2 separate regions of the Homo sapiens genome follow, and region 1 is linked to region 2. The links are contacts of gene promoters, found by promoter capture Hi-C in human tissues and cell types (Jung and others, 2019). All regions are on one chromosome and are shown on one strand. Each heading gives the region's core, a stretch centred on a gene start or on the middle of the fragment in contact. The rest is flanking DNA. Distances are from core to core; before and after follow the strand shown.

Region 1 (5,077 bases), core at 203-2,702, 200 kb after region 2:
GGTTAGTAAAAACAAAGAGATTAGTAAAGTGGCTACTATATTAGTCGAGATGAAAGATAAGAAAGGCTTAGCTTAGTGTGTTACCTGAAAAATGGGTGAAAACTGTGATACAGGAGTTAAAAAGAAATTACTTAGGCAGATAGAGAGGGTACGGAAATCCTCGGTAATGATTTTCCTTTTAATAAAAAGCAGCCCAAAATCATTTTCCTTTCTAACAAAGAGCAGCCTGTAAAATTGAGCTGCAGACATAGTTGCCAGAAGAGGAATACTACCTGTGACCAGGCATGTTCAAAATGGCGGCTCCATCTTCCCTTCCCTTTGCCAGCCACATGTACAGCAAGGAGTGGACAAGATGGTGTTGGTCAACTGGAAGCCCATTTGAATAATAAGATTAGGGTGGAGTGGCCAGCCTTCCCCAGACTGTGTCAACGTCACACCTGATTGAACCAATCTGTGTGTCCTACATAAATCAGACACTGCCTCCTCAAGCCAGCCTTTTCCTCTGGGAAGCCCCTCTCTCTCACTAGAGAGAGAGCTGTTTTCCTTTCTTTTTCTTTCTCTTTCTTTTGCCTATTAAACCTCCCATCCTAAACTCCTTGTGTGTGTTTCTGTCCTAAATTTTCGTGGAGCAAGATGACCAACCCTGGGTATTTACCCCAGACAAGAATGCCACTTCAACTGGTCAGATTAGAAAAATAATCTAAAGGTAGAGTTTAAATCAGAATGTGATTTATTTACGGATGTGAGAAGGGAAATGGTATTAAATGTTTTCTAGATTATTGGTCTGAAAAACTAAGTGGATGGTGATACTACTTAGTAAATGGAGAAAATTGGGAGAAAACATCTTGGAAGGTGTTTTCAAATATGTTAATTGGACACGCCTGCTAGAAACCATGAGGTAGAATTACGGAGTGTGGTAATGCAAGGAGAATTCAAGATATGCAAATCAATAAATGTGATAAATCACTTTACAGAGGAAAGGACAAAACGTGTATTAGTATTTCAGTAGATGCAGAAAAATCACTTGACAAATCTCAATATTCCAACATGATTAAAAACTATCAACAAATCAGGTATAGAAGAAAGTAGATTAACACAATAAAGGTCATATATGACAAACCCACAGCTAATATCATACTGAATGGAGAAAACTTGAAAGCTTTTCCCTGAGATCTAAAAAAAGACAAGGATTATCTCTTTCATTATTTCTATTCAATAAAGCCCTGGAAGTCTTAGCCAGAGCAAGTAGGCAAAATAAAGAAATAAAAGTCATCCAAATGGGAAAGGATGAAGTTAAATTGTCTCTGTTTGATGATGATGTAACCATATATATATTTTTTAAAACTACCAAAAAACTGTCAGAAATAATAAACAAACAGTACAGTTGCAGGATACAAAATTAGTGTATGCAAATCAGTAACATTTCTATACACTAGTAGCAAACTATCTGAAAAAAAATCAAGAAACAACTCTATTTACAAAGTTATTTAAAAAATAAAATAAGAATAAATATAAACAAAGAGGTAAAAGACCTCTACACTGAAAACTATAAAACATGGATGCAAGAAACCAAAAAAGACACAAATAAATAAAAAGATATCCCATATTGATGGATGGAAAGAATTAATATAGTTAACATGTCAATACTACCCAAAGTGATCTACAGATTCAATGCAATCTTCATCGAACTACCAATGACATTCTTCACAGAAACATATAAAAGCAATTCTAAATTTTGTATCAAACCATAAAAGACTCCCAAAAGCAAAAGCAATCTTGAGCAAAAAGAACAAAGTTGGAGGAATCATGCTATCTAATTTGAAGACAAACTACAAAGCTATAGTAACCAAAATACATAGTACTAGCATAAAAACAGACTCATAGACAAATGGAAGAGAATAAAAAGCCCAGAAATACTCCCCATTTATAGCCAATTTTTTTCAATAGAGGCACCAAGAACATACAGTGGAGAAAAGACAGTTTCTTCAATAAATGATATTGGAAAACTGGATATCCACATACAGAAGAATGACATTAGACCATTATATCTCACCACATACAAAAATCAATTAAAATTGATTAGACTTAAGTGTAAGACCTGAAAGTATAAAACTTCTAGAAGAAAACATAGGAGAAAATCTTGTCGATATAGGTTTAGGCTAAAAATTTTGGATACGACCTCAAAAGCACCAGCAACGGAAACAAAAATAGACAAATGAGATTACATCAAACTAGAAAGCTTCTGCACAGCAAAAGAAACAATCAACAGAGTGAAGAACAACCTACAGAATGAGAGAAAACAATTGCACACCATACACTGGATAAGGAACTAACATAAAAATTATATCAGAAACTCAAATTGCTCAATAACAAGAAAACTACTGTATTTAAAAATGGGCAAAAAACTTGAATAGGTGTTTCTCAAAAGAAGACATAGGAGGACCAACAGATTGCATACATAATGTTCAACATCTCAAATCATCAGAGAAACACAAAGTAAGACCACAAAGATGAAAGACAAAAAGTGTTGGTGAGGATGTAGAGAAAAGGGAACACTTAACACATTGTTGGTGGGAATGTAAATTAGTAGAGCCATTTGGAAAATTATGAAGATTCAATCAGAGAATAAAATCAATTTCTGGGAATATTTATTTATAACAAAACACAGTTGATGATACAAAAGAGAGACTATTCACTAGTAAAACCTGAGTTACTAGCCTAGAAGACAAACGAGAAGAAATACCTCAAAGAATGAAGCATAAATGCAAGATAATGGAAATAATTGAAAAAAGATAAGATAATTGGGTGCATGTGAAGAAAACCTAATTGAAAGATAGTATTGCAGAAGAAAAAAAAACTATGTGAGCAAAATAATATTATTAAACAAATATAAGAGAAAATTTCCCCCAGTTGAAGAATATATACATCTGCAAATTTAAACTACACACCAAATTCCAGGCAGAATTAATGAGAAAAAAAAAAAGAAACCCTAAACATATCTGGGTAAATTTCTTGAATTCCAAGGATAAAGAAAAATACTGATAGTGTCCAAAAGAAAAGCCTGAGATATTTACAAATAAAACAAAGTCAGTTCTGGCATAAAACTTTCAGAAATTAAAATATATATGCCTTTCTTTTTTTTTTAGAACACCTCTTTCAATCAGTCTTTCAAAAATGGTCTATGAAGATTAACTTTCTTGGTGCTTTTTATGTCTAAGAATTATTTTTTTTTTCTGTTCCACTTGATTTCTAGCTTGGATACTTATTCAATTCTATATCCAAATTATTTTTCTCGTAGCTTAAAAAATTAAAATTTGTGTCCTCATTATCGTCTAATTTCCATTTTACTTAGAATGCAATTTAGAATATCCCTTTTGAGGTTGTCTTATTTCCATGGAGTTCTAAATATTCCCTTTAAGGTATCTAGGTATAGGTTTTTGCCATTAATTTTATCTAGCACTGACACTTTCAGCCTAGAAATGTATACTTTTATCATCTGCAGGAAATTATACTGTTACTTATTTATTCCTGTCCATTCTCTTTGTTCATTTCTTCTGACATTCAGTTATATGGTTATTGGATCTTCATTTACCTCACTGTCTCTTCTTTAATCTTTTGTAATTTTTTTTTTGTTTTTATGTTATTTTGTTGGAATATCTTGGATTAATCTAACTCTTAAATAATTCAGACTTCCACCGAATTCAAACTTCGATTGAGCTCTTTACTTTCTTTGTAAATTTTATTTTTCAAGACTTATTAAAATATAATTGACAGATAAAATTTTTACATATTTACAATGCAGGATGTGATGTTTCAATATTGTATATATTGTGAAATGATCAAGTCAAGCTAATCAACATATCCAATACTTCACTTGTCATTTTTTTGTGATAACGTTTAAGATCTATTCTCTTGGCAATTTTCAAATATGCGATACATTATTATTAACTACAGTCATGTACAATAGATTTACAGAACTTGTTTATCCTGTCTAATGGAAATTTGTACACTTTGATCAACACTTCCCCATCTTCACCCCATCAGCTCCTAGTAACCACCATTTATAAACCATCTGATAACAGGCTAATATGCAAAATATATAAGGAACTCAACGCAACAGCAAGAAAACAAATAACAATTAAAAATGGTCAAAGAATCTGAATAGAGATCTGTTAAGAGAAGAAATACAAAGGGCCAACAGGTATATGAATAAAAGGCTCAAGTCACTAATCATCAGGAAAATGCAAATTAAAACTATGATGAGATGTCACCTCACAACTGTTAGAATGGCTATTATCAGAAAAACATATATATATCACATACATACACATACGCACACAGACTAACAATGGCTCATTGTATGAAATTTTATTCATCCTTAAAAAATAAGGAGAGCCAATCATCTATGACAATATAGAGGAACCTGAAAAACATTATACTAAGTGAAATAAGCCAGGCACAGAAAGACAAATATTGCACAATCTCATTTATATGTAAAATCTAAAAAAGTTGAACTTATGGAAGCAGAGACCAGAAGATTGGTTAATTTTTTTTCACTTTATCATGTTTACATTTACATTAAAGAACACCAATTAACTTACTTTATAGTAGTCTATTTTGTTTTATGAATGTGATGGTCTTCTAAATATATCTGAGAATTTAGTTAGATTTATTGTTTCAGTTACCTTTTGATTCCATTCTTCATGGTTTTCTTAGTATTTATTGTTTTCTTTCTGTATTTAATATTCTACTTTCATGTGTGTATTTTCCTCAACTTTGGATTCTATTCATGTTTTAAAATAAGAATACCCTGTATACCTGCACTGAGTGGCAGAAGGAACTGTGCAATGGGATGTGAGGAGGGTTTATCTTCATAATTTATGTGTTCTCTGTATTTCTATGGCTGGCAAGTGATCTGGAGCACTGCCTTGCTTCTCTAGCATGAACTACAACATTAGGAGTCTCCTCTTTTGCAACTCCCAGGTCAGAATTTAAGCTTTATTCTGGGGATAAAGCCTGAAATCACCTTCTTTTTCTGTCTTCTTTCTTCATAGTGTTTTGTTGTTTTTTATGGTTC
Region 2 (5,092 bases), core at 789-3,288:
TATACTAGGGAAACTATATAAAAGAGAAAAGAACTGAAAAAAAGTCCTGAAATTGCTATGAAAACCTGTATGAACATGTTGGAGAGAAAGAGGGAGTAAAAGGAAACTTTTCTCTCTGATTTTGGCACTATTATCATGGATCTGCTCATCCATTGTCTGTCTAAAACATTACTAGCTAAGATGAAAACCCTATGGCTAGCCTGGAGGGTCTAGAGTTTTCATAATTTTGAGAGAGACCCAGCTTTTTCAAAGGTAACGGTTAAAAAAACAAAGCAAAACAAACTATTATGTGGGCTCAGTGGCTCAAGCCTATATTTCTATCACTTTGGGAGGGTGAGAAGGGAGACTCCCTTGAGGTCAGGAGTTTGAGACCAGTCTCTGTGCAACACAGCGAGACCTCATCCCTAGCAAAAAAAAAAAAAAGAAAAAAAAAAAAAAGAAAGAAACAAAGAAAGAAAATAGCAAAGCATCCTGACACATGCCTGTAATTCCAGCTACTCAGGAAGCTGAGATGGTAGGATGGCTTTAACCTAGGAGTATGAGGTGGCAGTGAGCTATGATCAGGCCACTGTACTCCAACTTGAATGACAGAGTGCTAATGACAAATACAGTGTATTAAGAATATCTACATCATGGCCTTGAAACCAAGAAAGAACAACTGATTTAAAGCACAACTTTAAGTATTGATAATTTGGGGAAATAAAACATGATATTTTTTAGAAGACAATTGCCTAAAGCCCTTTCTCCTCTCCCTCCACCTGCATACAACCTCCTCTTGAAATGAGCACTGCTTACTTATCTAATTTATCCAGTATCCTCCTTCCACCTTCTTTTCAAAATCTAAGCTTTACTAGACTGACTGAACAGAAAAGTTAGTTTATAGTAGAATTTATTTCTATAGAGGCCCTTATTCCTAGGGAAGGTTGTAACTTGCTACTTCATGTTACTTTGGAGCTATAATTATGATAAAATTCAACAGTCCAAAAGACAACATGCACGGGTGTTGCTAGTGAGCTGAACGTAAGGCATCACCCTTACTCTGAGCTTGGCCTGTCTAAAAGTCAATGTCATTTATTTTATAAGCTAATTCTTATGCATGAAAATATTGCAATCTTGGCAAAATATATTTTTGCATCCGATGGTCTTAGCTGCCTTCCAGCCTTGCTTAACAACTTCTAAAGGACACACACAAGTACTGCAGGGGTGGGGGGAGTATAAGATTAATTATCTCTTTCCACACAATGCCTTTTCTTTCTCTCCCAATTATGGATAATGAGGCCAGAAGTGTAATTACTGAAGGAGTTTGGAAAGGTAATTACTGAACTAATCTCAAAAATGGTGGTGACCACAGCACAACAAAACTCACTTTATAGCTGTCAGAGCCACTTGGAATGTGATACACATGTTGTGTTTGCAAACCCAGGTGCTGTACGAAAGGTAGTTTCATATTAGCAAATTACCACAACGACCTGCTACATTCTACTCATTTTGATTTTGTAATGAGAAAGCCGATTAAACTGTAATAACTTTAAGTTGTGACTCTTAAACAAGTTACACGTTTTGAAGGAGGTGAAAAAACAAAGATGGCGGGTTTGAGGAGCCTTTCTGGGATCCTGTTGAATATCGAGTCCTGAGATTTGCAAATAGCTCTACCTTCATCTATTCCCACTGATCACTGGAGAGTTAAAGTTTAAGGAAACTTCATAGCAATTCTCAAATTAAAGCACTGAGCTTTGAGACTGCCAGCCAAGGCCTCCTTTTATGCTTAGGCATAAATGTACACGGGACATATAAATTAAATTTCAACGCCATGGTTCCCGTTGCTTCTCTGTTACCTGTTCTTTCTCGCCATGATCCGGAGAGCACGCCACATCCTCCTCCAACCCCTTCACCCTCACTGGCAGAGAACAATCTCTCCATCCCTTTGTGCTCCCGTACCATTCACTCCTAAGCCCTAGGTTCTGCCGCCTCATCTCATCCCTTTGTGACGTAGTGGCCCCAGTCCGGGCCCCGGCGCGCTAGGCTCACAAAGGCAGGCACAGACTGCAACCCTGCTCAGTGCTCCGGGCGCTTCAGGCTGGCTTGGGTCCTGCTGCTCCAACCCCAAGGGCCCTGGAGCGCTCCCTGATACCTCCATCACTCACCATGGCCAGCCAGTTCTGCCTCCCTGAATCCCCATGTCTCTCGCCCCTGAAACCCTTGAAGCCACATTTCGGAGACATCCAAGAGGGCATCTACGTGGCGATCCAGCGCAGTGACAAGCGGATCCACCTCGCTGTGGTCACGGAGATCAACAGAGAAAACTATTGGGTCACGGTAGAGTGGGTGGAGAAAGCAGTCAAAAAAGGCAAGAAGATTGACCTGGAGACCATACTCCTGCTGAATCCAGCTCTGGACTCTGCTGAACACCCCATGCCGCCCCCGCCCTTATCCCCCTTGGCTCTGGCGCCCTCTTCGGCCATCAGGGACCAGCGTACCGCCACGAAATGGGTTGCGATGATCCCCCAGAAAAACCAAACAGCCTCAGGGGACAGCCTGGATGTGAGGGTCCCCAGCAAACCTTGTCTGATGAAGCAGAAAAAGTCTCCCTGCCTCTGGGAAATCCAGAAACTGCAGGAGCAGCGGGAAAAGCGCAGGCGGCTGCAGCAGGAGATCCGAGCTAGACGCGCCCTCGATGTCAATACCAGAAACCCCAACTACGAAATCATGCACATGATCGAAGAGTATCGCAGGCACCTGGACAGCAGCAAGATCTCAGTCCTGGAGCCCCCGCAAGAACATCGCATCTGCGTCTGCGTGAGGAAGCGGCCTCTCAACCAGCGAGAGACAACCTTAAAGGACCTGGATATCATCACCGTCCCCTCGGACAATGTGGTTATGGTGCATGAGTCCAAGCAAAAGGTGGACCTCACTCGCTACCTGCAGAACCAGACCTTCTGCTTCGACCATGCCTTCGATGACAAAGCCTCCAACGAGTTGGTGTACCAGTTCACCGCCCAGCCACTGGTGGAGTCCATCTTCCGCAAGGGCATGGCCACCTGCTTTGCCTATGGGCAGACGGGAAGTGGGAAGACGTACACCATGGGTGGAGACTTTTCAGGAACGGCCCAAGATTGTTCTAAGGGCATTTATGCTCTGGTGGCACAGGATGTCTTTCTCCTGCTCAGAAACTCCACATATGAGAAGCTGGACCTCAAAGTCTATGGGACATTTTTTGAGATTTATGGGGGCAAGGTGTATGATTTGTTGAACTGGAAGAAGAAGCTGCAAGTCCTTGAGGATGGCAATCAGCAAATCCAAGTGGTCGGGCTGCAGGAGAAAGAGGTGTGTTGTGTGGAGGAAGTGCTGAACCTGGTGGAAATAGGGAATAGCTGTCGGACTTCCAGGCAAACACCTGTCAACGCTCACTCATCCAGGAGCCATGCAGTGTTCCAGATCATCCTGAAGTCAGGACGGATAATGCATGGCAAGTTTTCCCTCGTTGATTTAGCTGGGAATGAAAGAGGAGCAGATACAACCAAGGCCAGCCGGAAAAGGCAGCTGGAAGGGGCAGAGATTAACAAGAGTCTTCTAGCCCTCAAAGAATGTATTCTGGCTTTGGGTCAGAACAAGCCTCACACCCCATTCAGAGCCAGCAAACTCACACTGGTGCTCCGGGACTCCTTTATAGGCCAGAACTCCTCCACTTGCATGATTGCTACCATCTCTCCGGGGATGACCTCTTGTGAAAACACTCTCAACACTTTAAGATATGCAAACAGAGTAAAAAAATTAAATGTAGATGTAAGGCCCTACCATCGTGGCCACTATCCGATTGGACATGAGGCACCAAGGATGTTAAAAAGTCACATCGGAAATTCAGAAATGTCCCTTCAGAGGGATGAATTTATTAAAATACCTTATGTACAGAGTGAGGAGCAGAAAGAGATTGAAGAGGTTGAAACATTACCCACTCTGTTAGGGAAGGATACCACAATTTCAGGGAAGGGATCTAGCCAATGGCTGGAAAACATCCAGGAGAGAGCTGGTGGAGTACACCATGATATTGATTTTTGCATTGCCCGGTCTTTGTCCATTTTGGAGCAGAAAATTGATGCTCTGACCGAGATCCAAAAGAAACTGAAATTATTACTAGCTGACCTCCACGTGAAGAGCAAGGTAGAGTGAAGCCAATGGCGAGAGATCAGGTCCGAAATGCTGCATTGCTGCAGTTTCCACCACTCTTATACAGGAAAACTGTCCAAATTATCTAAAGATCCTCCTGAGAAGCTTAAAACATCTTAAAATACACTGATGGGAAACATGCTCTTTCTTCTGCCTCTGTATTTCTGTAGTTTGTTTTCATCCTGCTGAACTATAGTTTTCAACAGGGAATGGTTCCTCCCCACCCCCTACCAGGACATTTGGCGATGTCTGGAAACATTTTTGATTGTCACAACTGGGGGTGATGAGGATACTGGCATACAGTAGTTTGAGGACCAGAAATGCTGCTAAGCATTCTAAAGTGTACAGCAGCAGTCCCCAACCTTTTTGACACCACAGACCGGTTTTGTGGAAGGGAGTTGTTCCGTGGGTGGGGTTGGGGATGAAACTGTTCCACTTCAGATCATCAGGCATTAGTCTCCTAAGGAGCATGCAACAACCTATATCCCTCACATGCACAGTTCACAATAGGGTTCATGCTCCTGTAAGAATCTAATGCTCCTGCTGATCTGACAAGAGGGGGAGCTCAGGCGGTAATGCCCGCTCACTGCCAGCTTGCCTTCTGTTGTGTAGTGTGATTCCCAAAAGACCACAGACCTACCGGTCTGCAGCCCAGGGGTTGGGGACCCTGAAGTGTACAGGACAGCTTCTCACAGCAAGTGACTACCCTGTTGCAAACATCAATGGTATCGAGGTAGAGAAACCCTGCTGTAGAAGAAACCAGCTGTGATGAAAGCAGATACACTAAATTTCCAGCTGGGAAAGCAAAACACTGTGAGTTAAAGGAAATAGATTGGAAAGACACCAGGGGTACACAATGGAGTAAATCTAATGATACTGCTCATGAATCTTTCTCTTGCATTGCTGTTTAGATTCAAATGGTTTTTAA

The links. The method cuts DNA at HindIII sites, captures the fragments that hold promoters and counts their contacts. A contact is called where the count stands out against the background at its distance.
Region 1: a fragment that was not itself captured here is called in contact with the fragment with the promoter of KIF2B in region 2 in 1 of the 25 tissues and cell types used here (dorsolateral prefrontal cortex).

What each region holds. Positions count from the first base shown.
Region 1 is chr17:54,017,135-54,022,211 of GRCh38, forward strand. No RefSeq gene overlaps it. Among named protein-coding and RNA genes, the nearest start is that of KIF2B, 200 kb to the left of the region's middle. The HindIII fragment of the contact is 4,329 bases long and covers 1-3,617 here.
Region 2 is chr17:53,820,889-53,825,980 of GRCh38, forward strand. It overlaps KIF2B (kinesin family member 2B), which reads left to right and starts at 2,039. Exons shown (of 1, transcript NM_032559.5): 1 at 2,039-4,305. The coding sequence starts at 2,146. The coding sequence ends at 4,167. It overlaps LOC124904030 (a long non-coding RNA gene), which reads right to left and starts at 2,038. Exons shown (of 2, transcript XR_007065851.1): 1 at 1,836-2,038. The HindIII fragment of the contact is 8,156 bases long and covers 1-5,092 here.